6 separate regions of the Homo sapiens genome follow, and all the other regions are linked to region 6. Evidence: promoter capture Hi-C in 16 types of primary human blood cells and fetal thymus (Javierre and others, 2016). All regions are on one chromosome and are shown on one strand. The core of a region is centred on a gene start or on the middle of the fragment in contact, and the rest is flanking DNA. Distances in the headings are between cores, read along the strand shown. Region 1 overlaps UBL3 (ubiquitin like 3). Region 2 has its middle 17 kb from the start of LINC00545. Region 3 overlaps UBL3 (ubiquitin like 3). Region 4 holds the start of TEX26-AS1 (TEX26 antisense RNA 1). Region 5 has its middle 3.8 kb from the start of SLC7A1. Region 6 holds the start of KATNAL1 (katanin catalytic subunit A1 like 1).

Region 1 (3,400 bases), core at 895-3,394, 520 kb before region 6:
CCAGCCTGGCCAACCTGGTGAAACCCGGTCTCTAATAAAAATACAAAATATTAGCAGAGCATGGTGATGCGCGCTTGTAGTCCCGGCTACTTGGGAGGCTGAGGCAGGAGAATCACTTGAACCCCAGAGGCAGAGGTTGCAGTGAGCCGAGATCACACTACTGCACTCCAGCCTGGGCAACAAGAGCAAAACTCTGCCTCAAAATAAATAAATAAATAAATAGTGCTTCTGACAGTTTAAAACCCTAAAATACAAAGCAGAACTCTGGTTATATTTCAATAGCATGGATGTGTATATCTCACACATATATATGTACAAACTAAAGTCTTGAAGGATATGTACCAAATATAACAGTCCTTATTTCATCTTTAGTTTCTTCATGTATTCCTGCATTTTCTAATTTTCACATTAAGTCTGTATTACTTTTAAAATAGAGTAACATTTAATTCAAAGAGTACTCAATCATTTCAGGATATTCCTAATAAACTATTAATATTTTAAAAAGTTAACGCTATCAAGTACTGTATCGGTATGGGCTTTCAAAGAAATATAAATGATTTTCTTAAGTAGACAAATAAGCATATCAATTGTAATAAATACCGCTCTGGTGGGGGAACGCTGATAATAGGGGAGGCCGTGCATGCATGGGGGAAAAATGTAAATGGGAAATCTCTGCCACCTTCTCAATTTTGCTGTGAACCTAGAACTGCTCTAAAAAATGAAGTTGGCCAGGTGCAGTAGCTCACGGCTGTAATCTCAGCACTTTGGGAGACTGAAGCAGGAGGACAGCTTGAGGCCAGGAGTTTGAGACCAGCCTAGGCAACAAATTGCGACCCTGTCTCTACAAAAAATTAAAAAAAAAAAAAAAAAAAAAAAGCCAGGTGTGGTGGCACATGCCTATAGTACTAGCTACTCTGGAGGCTGAGGCAGGAGGATTACTTGCACCCAGAGTTCGAGGCTGTGGGGATACAGTGCAATGATCATGCCATTGCACTCCAGCCTGGGTGACAGAATGAGACCCCATCTCTAAAAAAAAAAATAAAATAAACATAAATCAACAAAGCCTACTTTTTATAGAAAACATTAAGCACAGAAATATAGAAATACAACATTTAAAAATAAAGTTATAAGATATTCATGGATCCTTTGAAGACTATTCATTGAACCTAAGACCTTCTGTTCTAGATGTCCTTGTTCTAGATGTTCTAGATAATGTTCAATTATCTTTGAACATTCCCAATCTCTTTTTTTCCACTCACAAGCTTAAAAGCTTGTGAGAGGAAAACCAAACCAAACCAAAACAAGACAAAACAAGACACACATACTGTACTCCATAAATTTAACTGGGTTCCTGCCACAAAATTCTCAGCATTTCCTAATTTAAAACTAACACACATCACAGTTGCCAATAAACTGATATTACACTTTCATATTTCAAAAATCAATGGTCTAAAGAGTTCATATTTATCTAGATGTTCAGAATGTTGGAAACTCATAGCCTCTAAATATGTTTGAACCAAATTTAAAAAATATTATTTTAATGTTTATAGGTGGGTATGAATCTTCGGTTTGACACAGACCCTACTACTCCCTCCTTACTCCCCCTGGCCTGCTTCAGACACTCAGGAAACTGCCTAGTTCCAGAAAACATTTGAGTTTGTTAACTCACAGTAGAGTTTGAAAGTAGTTTGGAAGTATAAAATGAGAACAAAAAGCAGGTTAAGATTTTAAAATCTTCTACTCAGAGGAAACCTAATCACCCTTCTGGGTGGGGAAGGGGGAGAAAATGACAACTGCAACAGTAACTGTGTAAATACATAAGTCTAAAAATTTATCAAGTCTTATAGCAAAACTGCTTCAGGAAAGAAGCTTATGTCCAAAATTGAAAAGAGCAACAATAAACCCACAGCACTGCACTGCTGAGTAAAGTAACTCTTGCCTGAAACATCCAGTGCCTGGATCAGTGTTTGGCACATAGTAGTAGGTGCTCAGCCAGTAACTGTTGACTAATATTTCTGTTTTTTCAGTTTTAAGATGCAACTGAAAGTGCAGACTAGAAAGGTCAGAGCTGATTCAAACCTAGGCTTCAGCATTCTGGCATTGTATTGAATGAGTGGCATAGTATGTAGAACAGGAATGGATAATAATTGTTTCTTGGTAGTGCTGTGGTCATGCAGATAGTTCAAATGCGTGAACACCTCAATCTTTAATTTGTTTTGGGCTCTGGATCTTTACTGTCAGCAACATGCCAGAGTTAACATAAATGCTATCATTTAGTCAGGTATTTTGAAAAGTAAAATTAATTCTAAGTTACCGTATTAACGTATACATTTGGGTCTACTTTTCAAACGGACTAGGTTAATAGATATAGACAATTAACAGATTGGTCTTAATTGGGCCTATGCTTATATCTATGAGACAAGCTTGCTACTAGACTAGAGCCATGAATCTGCCTCAGTATGCTTGTCAAGTATACCTTAGGACTGTAAGAAAGATGGAGAAAAACACTGGATTCCCATAATTTCCTTTAGAAGAAATCTTGAAAGCAATCACGCAGATAACTGGATACCGGGCTGGTTATTAGTTAATTGTTCCTATGCTATAATAAGAATCTTCCAGGGCTTATTCAGATAAATAATGTTAATTGTAGCTCCTCTCAGTAAATGTATGACAATTTCTATAAATGTGAGCTTGTTCCTTTAAAATATTAAGTACTTATTACTTAAATATTTATTAGTGAAAGGCCTTTTTACTTCTTTGAAGCCAAGCTAAGTCTAAGTATAAAATACATTTAAAAACCTCTGCTTGTAGGGTAATGGGATCCTTGACACATCAATAATGGGTTAAAAATAAGACTTATTTACAGCTTAAAATGTTATATACTTTGTGTACATACCTGTCTAAAAGAAAACTGGTAATAAGGACTCTGACTTGGTATGAGAGCTATTATGTAGTAAAGTTCCTAAGAGATGGCATTTAGATCATTCAAATGAATTATATATTTTTTATATTTACTTTTGAGACAAAACAAATCAGACAAGACTATTAGTGAGGCAGAACTACCATGATGATTTCCTGTAAGGCCAATGGATACAACAAGAACTCTTCAATGCATGTAATTTCAAGTTAGAACCATTTTTAGTCAAACTGCCATTTCTATTTGTTAGATAGTATCAATTTGGGGAAATTACATATAGAACTTAGTTTATAAAATAATATGTTTTTAGTTGGTCAGGATGGAAAAAAATGACGGGAAAGAAAGAGGGAGGATGGAAGATGGAACTGACTAGAATGGTCTTTGGATATAAAATATAATTACAGAGATGGACCATGCCCTTTAAAAAGGCTGTTTTCTACCAAAAGACAAATACGTTGATCAGAAAAAGAATTCCCACTTCTC
Region 2 (3,294 bases), core at 793-3,292, 560 kb after region 6:
GGTACATCAGGTGTCTCTGTTCCTTGCAGTCTAAAAAAAGCCAACTTCAGGAATTCCCCATCTTACCCTTATCTACTGCCACCTATTCTACTACGCTTCTCAGACTCTCCGCTTCAACCATGTAAGCCATCTTTTCATTCTTGTGTGTTCCCGTTCTCCATTATCTTGCTAATATAAGCTCTTCGAGGAATGCCCTCCCTCCTTTCCTTTGCCAGGTAAATCTACTCTTCCTTCAAGACCTGACTTGTGTTTCATCTCTCCCGTGGTGGCTTCCATGACTCTGCTTCCCTGGGTGGCTTCTCTGTGCCTGTCTCTCAACACCTGCATCACCTACTCCCGGGACACTACAGGCAGCCTACGCCACCTTACATTATTCAGTATTCACTTCTCAATATTCAGGAAATGTCTTTCCCTAAGGCTTTATGTTCTCTTGGTTCAGGGACCAAAGTTTTGATTTTGTGGGATGACAGGATGCATTTGATACCAAATACATCCCTCCACATCTTCCTTCTCATTGAATTGCTGTATAAAATTCCCACTTCCCAGAACAGTTGTTGCCTATGGACCCAGGGCCTGGCCTAGAGGGGAAGCCAGGTCTCTGCTCACCTCTAGTCTAGGCTTTTCCCGTTTGGGAGGTGAGGTTGGCCTGCCCCCAGCTTTCCTGAATGGAGAGCGTGCATTCATTTCCTAATATGCCACGATCCTTGGGAAGATTTCTTTTGCTTTAGTTTGCTGTCAGGCCTGGAAGGGAAGGTGAAGTGGGGAGTCAGTGAGGAGGGGGCTGGGCCACCTGGTGGGATGTTGGGAACTATTTTCTGTGCAGAGGCCAAGGCTGGGGCTGGGGGTGGGACACATGGAAATCAAACATGTACTTCACAGTTTGGTCCTGGGCTGACCTGTTTATAATAAAAACATTTGGTTTGACTTCCACAGACTCCAAGCCATGACGTCAATGTTGATGCATTTCAGGCCACATTCCTTTTAGTCTCCGGAGAAGTTCTTTACAAAAAGCATGAAAGGTGGAATCAAATAGTTCCTGGGATCATCTCCAGTCTGAGACATCACATTTGCACTTTAAGCAAATGATTCAGATACTAAAATTCAAGCCCTAAATATGCCTTTTCAACTACAAACTAATTATTTGTGTCTAAATCAATGGACGGTGTCTCTTTAAATGTTCCCTTCATTCCTCATGCATGCTATAATCAGCAGATGGCCCTACCTTCCCCCACCACCCCCTTTTAAACAGACCCTTCTAATAGCTAATATCCTGCAGTGACCAAAGCCATTAGAAGGATTAAGCCATTACTATCCTGTCCAGCAAACACACAATGCTCACGGGGATTGCCTTTTTTTTTTATTTTTTGGTTGTTGTTTTTATGGATGAATCAGGGCCCAATGGTAGGCTGAAAATCAAAACAGGGAGGGCAAAGGGTTATAGTCATTCTTTTCAAGGACACCTCCCAAACAGCCTCAGGATTTGAGATTCCTTTGTTAGAATGACGGCAGATGTCAGCCTTGTGGCTAGTGCAAGCTCCGAAAGGACACAGTACGCAGACCTCTGTCCCTCGTTTCCTTAATATCTAATACTCATCCTTTCCAGAGCACCACTGTGGCTGTCTCGTTGCTCTGCCTGTCCACACAGGCCTGTTTGTGCTGTAACAGACAAGCAACCAGCAGCCCAGCCCAAAGCCACGTTGCAGGGCCCAGGACTGCTCTGAGACACTGCCACCCAGTGGCGCTTCTGAAGCATAACAGCACACAGAAAGGGAGCAGGGAACCCAGTTTTATAAGCATGGAGGGGGTAGGGGGTGCAAAAGCTGGCCTAGAATCGTGAGGCCGAGCTGCAGAAAAGCATGCTCCATGGCACGGAGGCAGGTAGCTAGTTTGGAGATGGCTAAATAGGGCAAGTGACAAAAAACACGAAGAAAGGCAGCTGGAATATAAAGAGAGGAATAAAGAAATGTAATGACATGGAAAGCGTGAGCAGTCTTTTCTAAATGGAAGAAATACGCACTTTCTCTAAGTGAGAGCTGGAGCGAGATGACCGAAAGATGAGTCAATGGAGCCCTTTTTTGGAGTTGGCCTCAGTTTGGATTACTCAGTATCTCACATGTCTGGGTTCTTAAGGATCCTTGAGCTTTGCTGACTTTGGGGAAGTCACTGTATTTCAGTTTTGTGACCCGAAGGGGCTGAGCTGAACCTCTAAACAGCTTCCCTGAGCCCTAACAGTGAGTATGTAATTAAATACCTGAGACGTTGAGTGAACAAGAAATGCAGAAATACAGAAAATGCAGGCTGTGAGCAATCCTTAAATCTTGTGTTTGACTTCAAAGTGCTGTAAGGGAGAACCTGAAAAATACATCCACTTACACCTTTGGTGGTTCAGGACTTGCCAGGAGAGTGCATGGAAGGGACCCCCATCCCACAGCGCATGGGTGACTCTACCCGCCATCTAACCTCCCTGAATCTCAGCAGCCAAGGCCAGTGCACTGAGATCTGCACCTCCAGCACTTTCAGTGTAGGGCGAGACAGGTTTAGAAGGAATTGGGCTTCTCTAAGATTGAAGCTAAACCAGAAGCTAATGGGTTAGTAATTTAATAGGTCTCCCTTTTCGGCAATATTTTCATTTTAAAAAGAAAACTTCTGTTAGAGGGCAAGTAATTCCAAAGAAATTAGATTCTGCTGGTTGAAACGTTAAGAATCCAGGCAGGCGGTGAGGGAAATTCGTTTCCCGGCTTCTCCAATCTAATCTGATAGTGCCCGTCTTGCCTCAGTCGTTAATACTTCTTGGGAAAAAGCATATGTGATCACTCTTTTAAAAACTGTTAGAATCACTTTCCTATCCAAGGTCTGAAAGAAGATTTGGGCTTAGGCTCCATTTGAAGAAATCCAGGTTGTATTTCCCCCAGCATTTAGGGTTTGATGGTTTCTGCTTATCTAAAGTGCTCACATTGCAAATATGAGCAGCAGGGCTGGGGATTTAAATTCTGTCTTGATGGGAATTTGAACTGAAATGCTCTGCCCACTGCCACTTTATAAGCTGGGAATCATCAAGCTAGCTACAAATACCTCGAGGGGTCCTTGCAGTTGCTCAACATAAATCAGCAAAATGACAGGCAATTGACTTTGAAGACAGCGCTCACATGGCTGAGTGGCTGGAGCTGCTGGAAGCAGATGAGGGCATTTTCCTGTAAACATGATTGTGATTAGCACCAGAGTAAATAGCGAATCGGGCTCTATCTGTCAGACTCCAGCCTGCTCTGGATTTTTCATTAGGTAGAAATCAACATG
Region 3 (3,430 bases), core at 165-2,664, 540 kb before region 6:
TATTTCTTGAAAGCTGTCATTTTGAAAAAGAGGAATATGAAAAATATTAAAAGACAAACATCTGACATCACTGTCGAAGACTATAAAATAATGTAGTAAGTGAAATTGGTTTTCACATTTCAGTACTGCTTTAAACTCTGATATTTAAGAACTAAGTGTTTCTCATTTAGTTCTATCCATGATCTCTTTCAGAAGTCAACCACCTCCTGTGTAAAAGCCTCATAGAAGCCACTGCCTTCTGAAGGAAACACACCAACTGGCAGGGGGTCAGGGTAAGCCAGGAGTCACACCCAACTACCACTGCTCACACCCAAGAACCCCACCCTACCCTGGCCACAAAAACTGTGCCTAGACTCCAGCACAGCCTGCAGCTGTGTTTCAATTATAGCTGTGTTTGTAATTATAGGTCATGTGCCTTCTCCCCCACCCCAATCACTCCACCCCAATCACTCCATTTGGCTAACAAGTGACCATATTATAACACAAAAATGGAAAACAAACTGGAATGCTCGAAAAAGTTACAAATAAAAACGGTATGAAGGCATATTAAATTTTGGCTGATACTTCCCTTTGATTTTGCTAAACTATAGCAAAGGCTGGCTCAATGTTGATTTTTACTGAAGAGTATCATTAACTGAAGAAAGAAAAAAAGACATAAACAGTAGTGAAATAAAGAATAGGCAAATACACCAGAATTATGAATAGAAGCCATTTTAAAGAAGAGAAATATTCTACAACAGATGAAGAAAGTTTTAATTTCTTTTCACATTAAACATTGTTTACCACAATCAGCTAACAGAAATTACTGTAACATTGGTCACGATGACTTCATAAAACTAAAGATAAATGTTATGAGGAAACTTCATTTAACGTGAATGGTAATGTTAGATACTGTATTTTTCCATGGTAAAATACAACTTATCTTGAAGAGAAAGCAAATAGTTCAGATCAGGGAGACATGCTGAGGTTTTAATAAAGAAAAGCTTGGCCTTGTCCAGAACACTTAACAAAGTTCAGGACAATTTAGGTAAAAGAGATGAGTGAGACACCAGCGTTAGGCAGGGACATAGGCTCATCATTCAGGCTTTATGTACATTACTGGATCTATGCAGCTCTCACCTTTAGATAAGTGAGCTATATTTTTGGCAGAGGGATCTTCAAAAGTAGCCTTGGATATGAGGAATCGTATTTTAACCACCAGGCAGTCCAAGGAATTATTTTTAAAGGGACAGCTGAGTATTTCACGTATATACTATTAAGGCATCTAAATTTTTGGTGTTTTCAGTATATAATTTTACTGCTACTTTTTATTCTTTTTTTTCATATTGTACAACTATGATATTAGGTATTAAGCGACGTAATTCTTTCTCTACTAGTGAACCAGTTTATTTCACTTAGCAAACTCTAAATTGAGGGAAATATATAATCTGAGAACACACAGAAAAATATATTGAAAAACCAATAGAGAATTATTTTTAACCATCATAAAAACTCAATCTTAATTAACTGATAGTCTTTAACTTAAAAAAAGAGTAATCAGAATGAAAATAGGTATTAAAAATAATTACCAGTAGTTTGTTTTACAAAATAGAGCCATAAATTGTTTAATTGCCCAATTAAGCAACTACCAGATTCTTTAGTCAACACTAACAGAATTCACATTTCAGCTAGTCAACAAAGCATATAAATATTTAACATCTCTTGAAGATAACATTTTAGTGATAACGGAGACTACATAATTCTATCCATTGTTGTGACTGTCCACAAATTAACCAGGTTAAATATCAAAGATACATTGGGAATACTCCCCAAAACAACAACAGAATATTAATTAAATGAATTTTAAAAGCTTAAGAAATGAAAGTAGAAAACATGAATGAGACGGTGCTTAAACAATTATTGACCTAATCAAGACCTTTAAAATTACCACCAAAATGCACTATCATTTTTTTTTTATTTAGTTTACAGGAAGAATCTGTAAGTACAGGTTGCAGAAAGAAAACGTTTAGTGCTATTTACATTCATTTTAAAACTCTGCTCTATACAAATTTAATTCTGATCAGTATGAACAATATTTTCGTAGATCTACTGCATATAAAGCCTTTTCATCAAAGCATTAACAATGAATAAAATAACATGATTACATTTAAACAACGCTGACCATTTGAAACCATTTACATTTAATGTTTGTAAGGGCTGTTGACACTTAGTACAGAATGTAATGTCAGCCTGCAACTTCATTTTTATAAAGGCTAAACTTATTTATATGGAATATTGTTCTGTATACTACGCGCCAATCTATATTTTAAGTCCTGTAGTTAGGTATTTTATAAGTCTTTTATTAAATATATTCTACACATATTTGTAATTTCATCCAGGAAGAATTTCTTCCCAGTGAAAAAATATAAAAATCTTTCATATTTTTACAGGTTTAGATGAAAGTAGCTCATGCTTTAGTGCTGTGCAAATTGTTTTTAGCATATCAATCTTTAAATTATTGGTATGAAATAAAAGAAAAAGTGGCATTCTTGTGTATGCCATAAAAATCAGCTTTTGACTTTAATACAATTGCAAGCACTAATATCAAACGCAAACTATATAAAGAAACAAAATTAGTACTATGGAGTTTTTTTTTAATTTTAAGAATTCATCTGAACTCTAAGGAGTAAGCATGACACTGGATGTGGTTACAAATTAATGATAATTATGGAAAATTTCAATTTGCTGATATTCAAATACATAAAATTGATCAATGAGGTTTTCTAATATTTCTGCACAATAATGAAAGCCGATGAGTGACTGAAACTACCCTCCCACATTAAGGCTAGGAGACGCACTCTCACCCCTTCTTGTGCTGTCTAAACAAACACTCAGTTACTGTAGGACTCAAGAGTGCATGTCTTAAAGGAAAAAAAATTAGTTTCATCAGCCCTCTACTGAGTGCTTTAAACAGGCACATTTTGTTTTTTCATTTGTTGCAGTGAAAATAGTCACACTCAGTTTAGTATTCTGTGCCAGTGCAGCCACCACGGCTGACTTTGGTAGAATTCACCCAACATTTTAGTTTCTTTTCCATTTTTTCCTCTCAAGTTGGCCCAGTAATTAACTTCATTAATTGCTGAGTGTCTTCCAGTGTGGAATTGTATATATAAGTATTTCTAGATACCACACACTGTTATAAATTCTGCTGATGAGGAAAATAATGCCAATCTTTTTAATGCAAATTGTATTTGGAACACTTGATTTATTAGTTCTGATGATGAAAATTTTGTGGCAGCAAAATGGTTTCTGCTACGAAAGATAACTTGTTAACTTTTCCCCTGGAGATTGACTGCATTCAAAAACCAATATGTGTTAAAACAGCTCAACAAAAAATACAAGAAATAAAAAATCAGAGTGAAAAATGTTCTTGGTTCTTTTTACTTTCATG
Region 4 (3,195 bases), core at 445-2,944, 630 kb after region 6:
CTTTCAAAATTCTATATACTTGCTGCTCTATTTTAAACATATATTTCTCTTAAATTATGCTATGCTAATTAGCTCTACCATTTCCAGACAGTAATCTGTTATTGGGTGCTACTTTTTAAATTTAGATGCCACTACTAAATCCTAATTTAGACTCATTCCTTTTAATAACATCTATGCCTTCTAATGTGTTCCACCCTCCATTGCTTCAAAACATGAGAGTTTATAATGTGTTATATTCATTCCATTATATGGATAGAACTCTACCTTCAGGAAATTCTAGTTTAGCTCTTCATTTTAAAGACATTCCTTGCACATATATTTGGGATCCTTACCTTGATGCTTTTTCTGTCTCCTTTGATAAATTCCTCCTTTGTCACACTGCACTGTTTCTCTGAGGTCTTGTATTAGAATAGCCCCTTAAGAATAAGGAACTGTTGTAAATTGCTTTGTAAACAGGTTGCCAGCCAACTCCAAAATGTATTTCCTGTCTTCTCTTTTCACCCAAGTGGGTAATAACTGTGTTGTAACCTGGAGACAGTCAGTAGTTACTAACCACCTAGTATGTCAAATTACCAGGTAAGGTTATCCAGCAAAAGGGGCTCACTGCACTAGAAGCCAACACTATGACACCAAGTTTTTGAGAAAAGGAAAGCTTCACATTGCAAGTTAACTTCTGAGGAAACAAAAGTCCAGTTCAAATCTGTCTTGTACTGGCTTTAGGGCAGTAATTTTATTACAAAAGGTTTAGGGTTGGATCCTGGGGTTAGCAGGTGATTGGTGGAAGCAAAGGGAACATCTGGGAAGTCTTCAGGCATGCATGGCTCTCTCTTCATGCTTCCTGGTGGGTCCCATGTGCAAATTTGGAGGGAGTTGGTATGAAACATGCAGTAGAAATTCAGGCTGTGACATCAGCAAGCTTGCTGTGCGCAAACTGCATTTGGCCATATTGATTCCGGCTGATTTCAGTCAGTTTTGTTATAAGCAGAGGGAGTTTCAGCAAATTGTTTCTTTTCTTATCTGCCCCTGAAAACAAGAATTTCTGTTAGTTATTGGTGTCTTTGACTCTTTGAAACAGTTTCAGTAGTTCCCAAGATATGAAGATAAAAGACCCCCTTCATCAGTGAAAACTCTTACAAGGGGATGAAAGACACAGCTTCCTCTATGAGAGCACAAGAACAATTAAATTGACCCTCACAAACACTATGGTTGGTGCCAGGAACGTGGCCTGGTGAGGAGGACAGTGTCACATCCTCCCTGCCCACTCCTGTTTCCACGCGTGCATTTCCTCTTCTGCCCCTCTCCTAAGCCAGGATGACCCTTCTGACCGCGTGGAACTATCACAGAAACTGCTTCCATTTATACCAGATGACTTGGGATTCAGTCTTCTTGCTTGGTTTTTATTGACTGCAAAAATCCATGACAACTTTGCGCACATTTGCTTAAGCTGAAAGCAAATGGATGAAAGTTTGTAGTTGAAAATCTACTTTCTCTTCAATCTCTTCCCTTTTTGCTTTTCTTAGGAAACATACAAGACAGTGGTCCGGAAAGCTCACTGCAAGAACTGTACAAATAATGTAAAAGTAAGGCATCCATAAGATCAAAGCCACATTTCTTTGCTCTCTGCACCCCATTCCCGCGCCGGCCAGGTTAAGCCTCCTGCGTGGCCAGCACCCCTTGGCAGGGGCAGAACTCCCTGGAACCCGATCCTTGTCTCCATGGCGACGCGTCACAAAGCAGCCCGCGGCTCCCGCAAGCGCTGAGATAGCTGGAGCCAGGGCCCCGCGGCCGCCTCCTGGGGCAGAATGGAACAGCCTGGGCCCAGGGCTCCGGATCCCTCTCTCTGCCACCACAACCTCCAGCCAAGTAAGACAGCAGACTCTGCCGGTCTGCGGGGCGGGGCTGGGGTCTTTCCCGGGGAAAGGGTCCTGTTGAGAAAAAGGGGCCTTAGTATTTAAGGGTGTGGCATCGCTCTTAGGAGTATGCTCAACTGAGGAAAAGACGGGGAGTCAGGGAGAATGACAGGGCCTTCATGACGCTGCCCCTTTTCAGTCCTTCGCATAACCTTTGCCAAATCCCCGCTCCCTAAAACGCGCAGGGTTTTTAAACACTCGAGGAAGTGCCTGGCTAAGAGGGGACAGGAAAAAAGGAAGAACTGGTGATTTTCCAAGGAAAACAGGGCCAAAGGCAAAGAAGAAAGAGAAGTCCTGGAAGCTCTGAAGAGAACAGGTCCTGCCTGAGTCCCGATCCCCATATAGGATCTTGGAAACAGCAAGGAAAGTGGGGGAAGGGTTGGCTGCTGAATGGAGTCCCAGCTGTGTCTGCAGAGGCAGACGCCCTCCCTGGGCTGTCGCACCAGGCTGGGAGCCATGGCCTTCAGCTGCCGCCTCTAACCTGAATTGATTTTTCTTCCACAGAGATTTTGTATTTCACAGAGGTAGTGCTTTTCATCCTAATTCTGCCCACAGATGCAGCAGGTTCACCAGTTCAGCCTTTTGGGTCTGTGGAGGGAGAACCACTCTAGCTGTGACGCTAGTGGCATGATTACCGTGTAGTCAGCTCCATCATAGTCTCTTGTGGCAATAATTGGCCATTGCTGCTGTATAGTTGGGTAACTGTGATTCCACAGTGGCTATGGAGCAGTGAAGGATTGTTCAAGTACAAATTCCCTAGAATTGTGCTCCCAAAAGAGTGAATGAAATGCATATTTTCATTCCAATTCATTCCGTTGTAAATTAAGAATGGAAAATGAAAATACTTAATTAGTGCAGAAAATATCTAATACACTCAGTTTCTATATGATGGGAAGGCAAACAGGAGAGACAGAGGAGGGAGGATCCCCTCCTAGCATCCCGACAGCACCCCTTTGGATGCTTCTCTTCCCTTTCTAACCACCCTGTTTTCCCACTGTCTCCCCATTTCATCCCCTTCTTGTCTGGGAACTGTTGGAGTCCCCCAGGATTGATCCTTCTAGGCTTACCTTCTCTTTGTGACCATATCCTGCACAGGGCTTCAAGTGCTGCATAAAGGTGCCAACAACTCTCTAACCTTTATCTCTGACTTGGACTTTCTTCCTACTTTTTCAGACCAGAATATCTAACTGTCTACCAGACAGTTCCATGTGGGTGTCACAGCAGGGCCTCCAACTTGACATGTGCAAAATCACACTCCTTGTCCTCCTCAAACCTTCCAGACTTT
Region 5 (3,414 bases), core at 699-3,198, 710 kb before region 6:
TTCACAGAAGATCTCCCAGATCCCACGCAGCCTACTCTGTCTGCTGAGGCCACAGTAAGCATGTCCCCTTCTCACAGAGAGAAGCCTGGTAGGATTAAAGACCACCTGCTTTGCCCTTGGCACCAGATCAGGATTTGAATCTGAACTCTACCAGTTCATTTGCTGTGAGAGCTTCTGCAAACTATTTCACTCCTGTTTGGAGCTTGTAAATCTTATATTCTTAAGAAAAAAATCTATCCCTTGGTGTTTGAAATATGACTGTGGAATTTTCTCTTTCTGCCTCTCTTTCTTTCTTTTTCTCTTTGCTGACTTCTGGCAGTAAAATAGAATTTCATAAATTGTAGAGATGCTCTCCTTGGGCAACACAGAGCGCCAACATGAGTTAATGTTTGTAAATTCTGAGAGCAAGTGCTCCAGGCCCTGATGGGAGTATGGTGACATTTAACCCAGGAGATTTTTAGCACTGTGCTCCGTTTAGCAATCCCACTCAGCAAGGTCCTGTCTTCAAAAAGACAATAAGACAAGCCCCATGAGCAAGTGACTTCTCAGCAAAAAGGATTCAGTATGAACCAGGGAAAAAATAGTTACGCACAAGATCTCAGCAAAACATTAGAGGATGCTGATAAAGAGGGCTACATGTTTTAAGCAAAGCCAGTTTTTAGGCAGGTCAAGACTCACATTACAGGTTCAGAGAAACCGTGAGTGACAGGCAGCCTTGATTACAATCAAAGAGCAGCTGCCCAAGATTCCAGCAACCATTAAGAAAGGGAGATGCTACAATTTAGGCCCTAGAGAGCAACATCTAAGGTTAAGGTTGACATACTAAGTCTCTTTCTAGCACCATTAGGCACCTTGGGGGCAAGGAAAGTGCACAGAATCAAAGCCAGGCAGATGTGGGTTTCAATTCTAACCAGCTGCTGGCCTGGGGAGAGGGGCCCTGCTCACTCTGTGCCTCAGTTTCCTCATTTTCGAAATAAGAATTTTACTACCTGCTGGATACATACGAACTTCATGGTAAGGATGAAAAATGTGTATAAAGATGAACAGAATATAGAGCTCAGAAATAGACTTAGTTTGTTTTGTATTGCTATAATGGAATACTCGAGTCTGGGTAATTTATAAAGAAAAAATGGTTTATTTGGCTCACAATTCTAATGGCTGGAAAGTTCAAGATTGGACATCTGCATGTGGAGAGGGCTTCAGGCTGCTTCCACTCATGGCAAAAGATGAAAGGGAGTGTGCGTGTGTGCAGAGATCACATGACAAGAGTATAAGCAAGAGGGAGAGGAGAGAAGGGCCCGGTTCCTTTAAATAACCAGCTCCAGAGTCATCTAATAGAGTGAAAATTCATCTCCCCGTCCCACCTACCCCCAGGAAGGACATTTCATGAAGGATCCACACCCGTGAACCAAATACCTCCCATTAGGTTCCACCTTCAACATTGGGGATCAAATTTCAACATGAGGTCTGGAGGGCACAAACATCGAAACCCAAACAGTAGCCTAGACCCACACAAATAGCTGATCCAGAGTGGCTAAGACAAGTCAATGGAGACAAGATAGTCTCCTCAACAAATGGTCCTGGAACAACTGGACCTGGACCGCCACATGCAAAAAATAAATCTAGACACAGACTTTAACATCTTACACAGCAATTAACTCAAAACAGATCATAGGCCTAAATGTAAAACACAAACCTATAAAATGCTTAGAAGATAACATAGGAGGAAATCTACCAATGGCTTTTTAGATACAACAGCAAAAGCATTATCTATGAAAGAAATGATTGCCAAGTTGGCCTTCATTAAAGTTAAAACCTTCTGGTCTGCAAAGACAATGTTAAGGCAATGAAAAGACAAGCCACAGGCTGGGAGAAAATCTTTGCAAAATACATATCTGATAAAGGACTGGTATCCAAAATACACAAAGGACTCTTAAAACTGAGTAATAAGAAAACACCTCACTTTAAAAACACAGCAGGGCGCGGTGGCTCACGCCTGGAATCCCAGCACTTTGGGAGACCGATACAGGTGGATCACCTGAGGTCAGGAGTTTGAGACCAGCCTGGCCAACATGGTGAAACCCTGTCTTTAATAAAAATACAAAAAATTAGCCATGCATGATGACAGGCACCTGTAATCCCAGCTACTTGGGAGGCTGATACAGGAGAATCACTGGAACCTGGGAGGTGGAGGTTGCAGTGAGCCAAGAGCACGCCATTGCACTGTAGCCTGGGCGACAAGAGTGAAATGCTGTCCCAAAAATAAATAAATAAATAAATAAATAAATAAATAAAAATAGACAAAAGATCTGAATAGACCCTTCATCAAAGACAATACACATATAACAAATAAGCATATGGAAAAATATTTAACATCATATACTATCGGAGAAATTGCAGATTAAAGCAAAGAGATACTACTACACAACTATTGAATAACTAAAATCCAAAACATTGGCAGCATCAAATGCGGGCGAGGATATGGCGCAACAAACTCTCATTCATTGCCAGTGAGGATGCGAAACAGTACAGCCACTTTGGAAGACAATGTGACAGTTTTTTACAAAACTAAACATAGTCTCACCACACTATCTAGCAGTCAGGCTCCTTGGTATTTATCCAAATGCATTGAAAATGTATGTCCACACAAAAACCTGTACAGCGATATTTATAGCAGTTTTGTTCATAATTGCCAAAACTTGGAAGCAATCAAACTGTCCTTCAGTAGGTAGGTGAACAAACTGTGGTACATCCATACAATGTATTGAGCCACGAAAGGACATGGAGGAAACATACATGTTTCTAAGTGAAATGAGCCAATCTGAAAAAGCTACATACTATGTGATTTCAACTATATGATGTTCTGGAAAAGGCAAAACAGTGGAGACAGTAAAAAGATCAGTAATTGCCAGGGGCTTGTGAGGGGAAGGATGAATAGGTGGGGCACAGGGGATTTTTAGGACTGTATAACTTCTGTATGATAATGTAATGGTGGATACATGTCATCCAGCATTTGTCAAAACCCATAGGACGTACAATACAAAGAATAAACTGTAATGTAAACTATGAAATTTAGCTAATAATAATGTATCAGTATTGGCCAGGTGCGCTGGCTCATGCCTGTACTCCCAGCACTTTGGGAAGCCAAAAGGCTGATCACCTGAGGTCAGGAGTTCAAGACTAGCCTGGCCAACATGGCGAAATCCCGTCTGCATTAAAAATACAAAAATTAACCAGGCATGGTGGCAGGGACCTGTAATCCCAGCTACTCGGCAGGCTGAGGCAGGAGAATCACTTGAACCCGGGAGGCGGAGGTTGCAGTGAGCCAAGATTGTGCCATTGCACTCCAGCCTGGGTGACAAGAGCGAAACTCCATCTCAAAAAATAAAAATAAAAAATAATATATCATTATTG
Region 6 (3,554 bases), core at 529-3,028:
GACTGCCCATGCAGGATACAGACTATCTTTTTTCATCTCTTTATTCTCACCACCTGGCATAATGCCTGGCACATAGGTTCCTAACACATTTTGAATGAATAAATAAAATACTTCAAACCTTATGTTGTATCACATAAGGCCTCAATTTTGTTTTCTACCTGTCTTACTAAACCTACTTTCCATCTCCTCCTTGTACAAAATTGCAACCTCAAGTAAAATTTACACAGGTCAACTTCATTTTAATTAAGAGAAAGTTTTATAGGATTTGTGGTCTTTTTGTTTTTAAACACACACACACACAAACTCACAATAATATCAACAATTCTCCAACTTACTCCATAAAGCAGCAAATTTCTAGGATGGTTATCTACCTATTAAAAAATTTTAAAGGGTCGTCAAGGAAGGTTTCGTAAATCTGTGTCAGCTTCCTTTACCAGCAAGTCTTTGAGTCAACTCTAAGGACTCAAGTGTACTCCTGAACATAAAAAATATATAAAGAATTAACTAAATAATTAAAACATGGTATTTTTCCTTCCGAAAACATGCTGAGAAATTCTGAATAACACTGGAATAATCAAAGAATTATTGCTGCCTACTGCTAAAAAAGTCTGTTTTTAAAAGTTACTAGTAATTTAAAGCTGAACTAATCAAAATATGTGTAGGCAGTGTTCAGGCTGGCAAGGGGGGGGTGGGGTGGAGCACTCATTTCACAACCTTGAACCTCAAGAAATAAAATTCAAAAATGCAAAAAGTTAAAAATGCCAGATACCACCATATAATCGCAATGACATCTTTTTATCTATTTCCACACTTAACCTTTAAACATTACTGCCCTTTGAGTAATTACCAATTGATGGGTTTAATATGCAAACACCTCTGAGCTACTTTAAAACAAACATGACTAACCCAGAAATAAACGTATCCAGGAAAGGAGAAAAACCTGTTAAAACACGGTTTCTCAGGTCTCACATCCAATGTGTGACATACATACGGTTCTGCACCGAAAGGCAGCAACCTGCGAGGGTCAGAGGCGCCGAAGACCCGAGGCCCTGCAGCTTGGGCGGCTGCTCATCCCTGAGACTGTGCAGGGCGGTGGCCCAGCCGGGGTGGGGCTGAGCGCTGCAACTGGGGCGGGCCCAGCTACAGGGCGGGAAGCCCGAGGCTCACCTCCACTTCCCTTTCCCAACGCACAGAGCCCAGGTCCGCGACCACTCAACAGCCCCCTCAAGACAAAGAGAGATTTTTTTTTCTGTCCCGGTCCGCTCAAAGTTTATCGGTCTTTCCCGGCGGTCGGGGCCGCCGGGCTTTGTAGTTCGCCAGTCCGAGCTACCCCACCAAGACCGCGAGCCCGAGGAGTCGCTGAACTACAATTCCCATGATGCACCGCGAGCCTGGCGCTCCCGCGCCCCTCCCCGTCCCCGCACGGGAGCCAGCGCCCGAGGAACCCCGCAGCCCACTGCCCTGGCGTCTCCGGCAGTGGGAGGCCGAGAGGGGCTGTTGGCTAGAGCCCTCCACCACCTGCTGTCTCGCCCTCGCCCCTTTCTCTCGGATTCATTACCCAGAAGGCGCAGGTCCGGGCACATTCAGCGATGCGGTCCAGATGGGGTGCGGGTGGGGCGCAGGCCGCCGCCGCCGCCGCCGCCGAGTCCGTTAGCTCGCGACGTGCGTGAAAAGGCGGCGGCGGCGTAGTGTTGCCATGGCAGCCGCGGCCGCGCGGTGGGCGCAGCGCGGGAGGGAGCGCGGGGGCTGTGAGTCCGCTCTGGGGCGGAGCTTGGGACTCCCGCCCAGGTTGCCGGGGGGAGGGAGGTGCAGCGGCGCGGGGTGGGAGAGCAGGGAGACAGTGACATTGAGGAGGACGTGTGGCCGACTGAGCTCTGGTCGTGCTTGATGAGCCTGCCTCCACTGCGTCCAGCCCCCGTGGCAGGGCACCTTCGTGCCTGCTGCTTTCGGAGGTGATGCCAGTGGCGTCGAAGGAGGGGGCACCCGGGGCGTCGCAGCGCCTTTCCCGCCGCCTGTCCAGGCGTCCGCCGCTGGGTCTGCCCCCAAGGGATGTGTGGATCCTACGCCACCTCTGTGTTTTTCTCCAGTCAAACCGAATTGAAGTCTTTCGCACCCCCTTTCTCCATTCTCTGGGGAGGGGGATAGAAGGGAATCCTTCGATAAGATGGAATGCATATGGCCTTTAGGATTATTCAGGAGGTTTTAGAATTTGCAAATGGCATTGCTTTCGACTGAATTTGGATTTATGCTGTTTCTTGGCAATCGTTTGTGGACTCTAGGATAAACAGGTTAAGAGCGTGGGCTTCTAAAACGAATTCTTAGTTCACGTCCTGCCCCTGTGCTTGGTAGCTGATGACCAGAGGCGCCTTTCTCACCTCTTAACGTTTTGATCTGCAAAAATGGAGATATCCATCTTGCAACTCTTGTAAGAAATACACGCATTAATACTGATGAAGCTCTATAAAACAAAGCTTAGCATTTAACAATAGCTATTAAATATTAATTATTTAATCAATAGTGATAAAAGTCAGAATAGTGGTTGGCTGTCGGGGAGGAGTTTGAGAGAATTTTTTGTAGTGATGAAAAAATTCTATAGCTAAGAGTTTCGGTTACAGAAGTATATGCACTTGTCAAAACTCTTGGAATGGGACATTTAAGATTTGTACATTTCACTGCATGTAAATTTACCTCAAAAGAGAACATAAAAATGTGTTGTTATTATTATTAGAGCTATAGACTCTAATGGAAACTACAGAGATATTCTAGGCCCAATCTCTAGATTTTATAGATGGGAAAACTGAGGCCCAGAAATTTAATAGAAAAAAAGAGGAAGGGGAGTGAATTCGTGACCTTGTCATTTTCTAGTAATGAATATCTCCTGAAAAATTATGGTTGAAAATAACAAAAATGGCTCCTGTAATCCAGCTGAGTCATCCTACCACAGAGATTTTCTTGAACTTGACTGAGTCCCTTATCCACCTTGTGGTGTTCCCCACGGCCAATGTCCTCTCAAGGATTGCACCGTCACTTCTGGCTCTCAGTTCTTGCTTTTCCTGAACACTTAGACCTCTCCACATATCACCTCTTACAACTCTCCTCTCTCTACTCCTGCTGACACATAATTTCGAAATCAGCCCCTTTTCTTTGGTTGTTTCTATAGCCAACTCTTTAGAAGGTTTGGAGCAGATAAGTGGTTTTAAATTAAGGATGCAAAAAACCTAAAATTAGAAATCCCTGCTCTTAAAAGTCCTTCAGTTCCTCCCATGATATTTTTATCCACCTACCACCTACCCCCATTTTTTCATCATAACCTGTAACCTCCCACTATTGTACCATCTTTCTGGTCCCATCTCTCCCCTCCTCTCCTCTCTTTATACAATACTTTTATTTCCATCTCCTAATCTGTGCCTTCATAGCTACCTGCCATTCCTAAACTGTTTACCAAAGTTTTTTCCTACACAAAGTAACTTCCCAAGAGGAACTCTGGAGCCAGCTATTAAAATAATATTTTTTCACATATGTATCCTCATATTCTATTTGATTCAGTCCACAGT

Evidence for each region. The method cuts DNA at HindIII sites, captures the fragments that hold promoters and counts their contacts. A CHiCAGO score of 5 or more calls a contact.
Region 1: a contact is called between a fragment that was not itself captured here and the fragment with the promoter of KATNAL1 in region 6, in 1 of 17 cell types (naive CD4 T cells). The highest score is 7.4, in naive CD4 T cells.
Region 2: a contact is called between a fragment that was not itself captured here and the fragment with the promoter of KATNAL1 in region 6, in 1 of 17 cell types (neutrophils). The highest score is 5.1, in neutrophils.
Region 3: a contact is called between a fragment that was not itself captured here and the fragment with the promoter of KATNAL1 in region 6, in 1 of 17 cell types (naive CD4 T cells). The highest score is 5.0, in naive CD4 T cells.
Region 4: a contact is called between the fragment with the promoter of TEX26-AS1 here and the fragment with the promoter of KATNAL1 in region 6, in 6 of 17 cell types (M2 macrophages, endothelial precursors, neutrophils and 3 more). The highest score is 10.1, in M2 macrophages.
Region 5: a fragment that was not itself captured here is called in contact with the fragment with the promoter of KATNAL1 in region 6 in 1 of 17 cell types (non-activated CD4 T cells); the score reaches 5.3 in non-activated CD4 T cells.

Annotation. Positions count from the first base shown.
Region 1 is chr13:29,780,976-29,784,375 of GRCh38, forward strand. All of the region lies in intron 1 of UBL3 (ubiquitin like 3), which reads right to left. Among named protein-coding and RNA genes, the nearest start is that of UBL3, 68 kb to the right of the region's middle. The HindIII fragment of the contact is 554 bases long and covers 1,868-2,421 here.
Region 2 is chr13:30,863,803-30,867,096 of GRCh38, forward strand. No RefSeq gene overlaps it. Among named protein-coding and RNA genes, the nearest start is that of LINC00545, 17 kb to the right of the region's middle. RefSeq lists an enhancer at 1-524. The HindIII fragment of the contact is 6,209 bases long and covers 1-3,294 here.
Region 3 is chr13:29,763,676-29,767,105 of GRCh38, forward strand. It overlaps UBL3 (ubiquitin like 3), which reads right to left. Exons shown (of 5, transcript NM_007106.4): 5 at 696-3,430. Among named protein-coding and RNA genes, the nearest start is that of UBL3, 85 kb to the right of the region's middle. The HindIII fragment of the contact is 866 bases long and covers 982-1,847 here.
Region 4 is chr13:30,930,914-30,934,108 of GRCh38, forward strand. It overlaps TEX26-AS1 (TEX26 antisense RNA 1), which reads right to left and starts at 1,695. Exons shown (of 4, transcript NR_038287.1): 1 at 333-1,695. TEX26 (testis expressed 26) reads left to right here and starts at 1,743. Exons shown (of 7, transcript NM_152325.3): 1 at 1,743-1,863. The coding sequence starts at 1,803. The HindIII fragment of the contact is 4,425 bases long and covers 915-3,195 here.
Region 5 is chr13:29,597,807-29,601,220 of GRCh38, forward strand. No RefSeq gene overlaps it. Among named protein-coding and RNA genes, the nearest start is that of SLC7A1, 3.8 kb to the left of the region's middle. The HindIII fragment of the contact is 6,470 bases long and covers 1-3,414 here.
Region 6 is chr13:30,305,773-30,309,326 of GRCh38, forward strand. It overlaps KATNAL1 (katanin catalytic subunit A1 like 1), which reads right to left and starts at 1,779. Exons shown (of 11, transcript NM_032116.5): 1 at 1,559-1,779. RefSeq lists silencers at 1,414-1,523, 1,554-1,783. The HindIII fragment of the contact is 2,852 bases long and covers 1-2,469 here.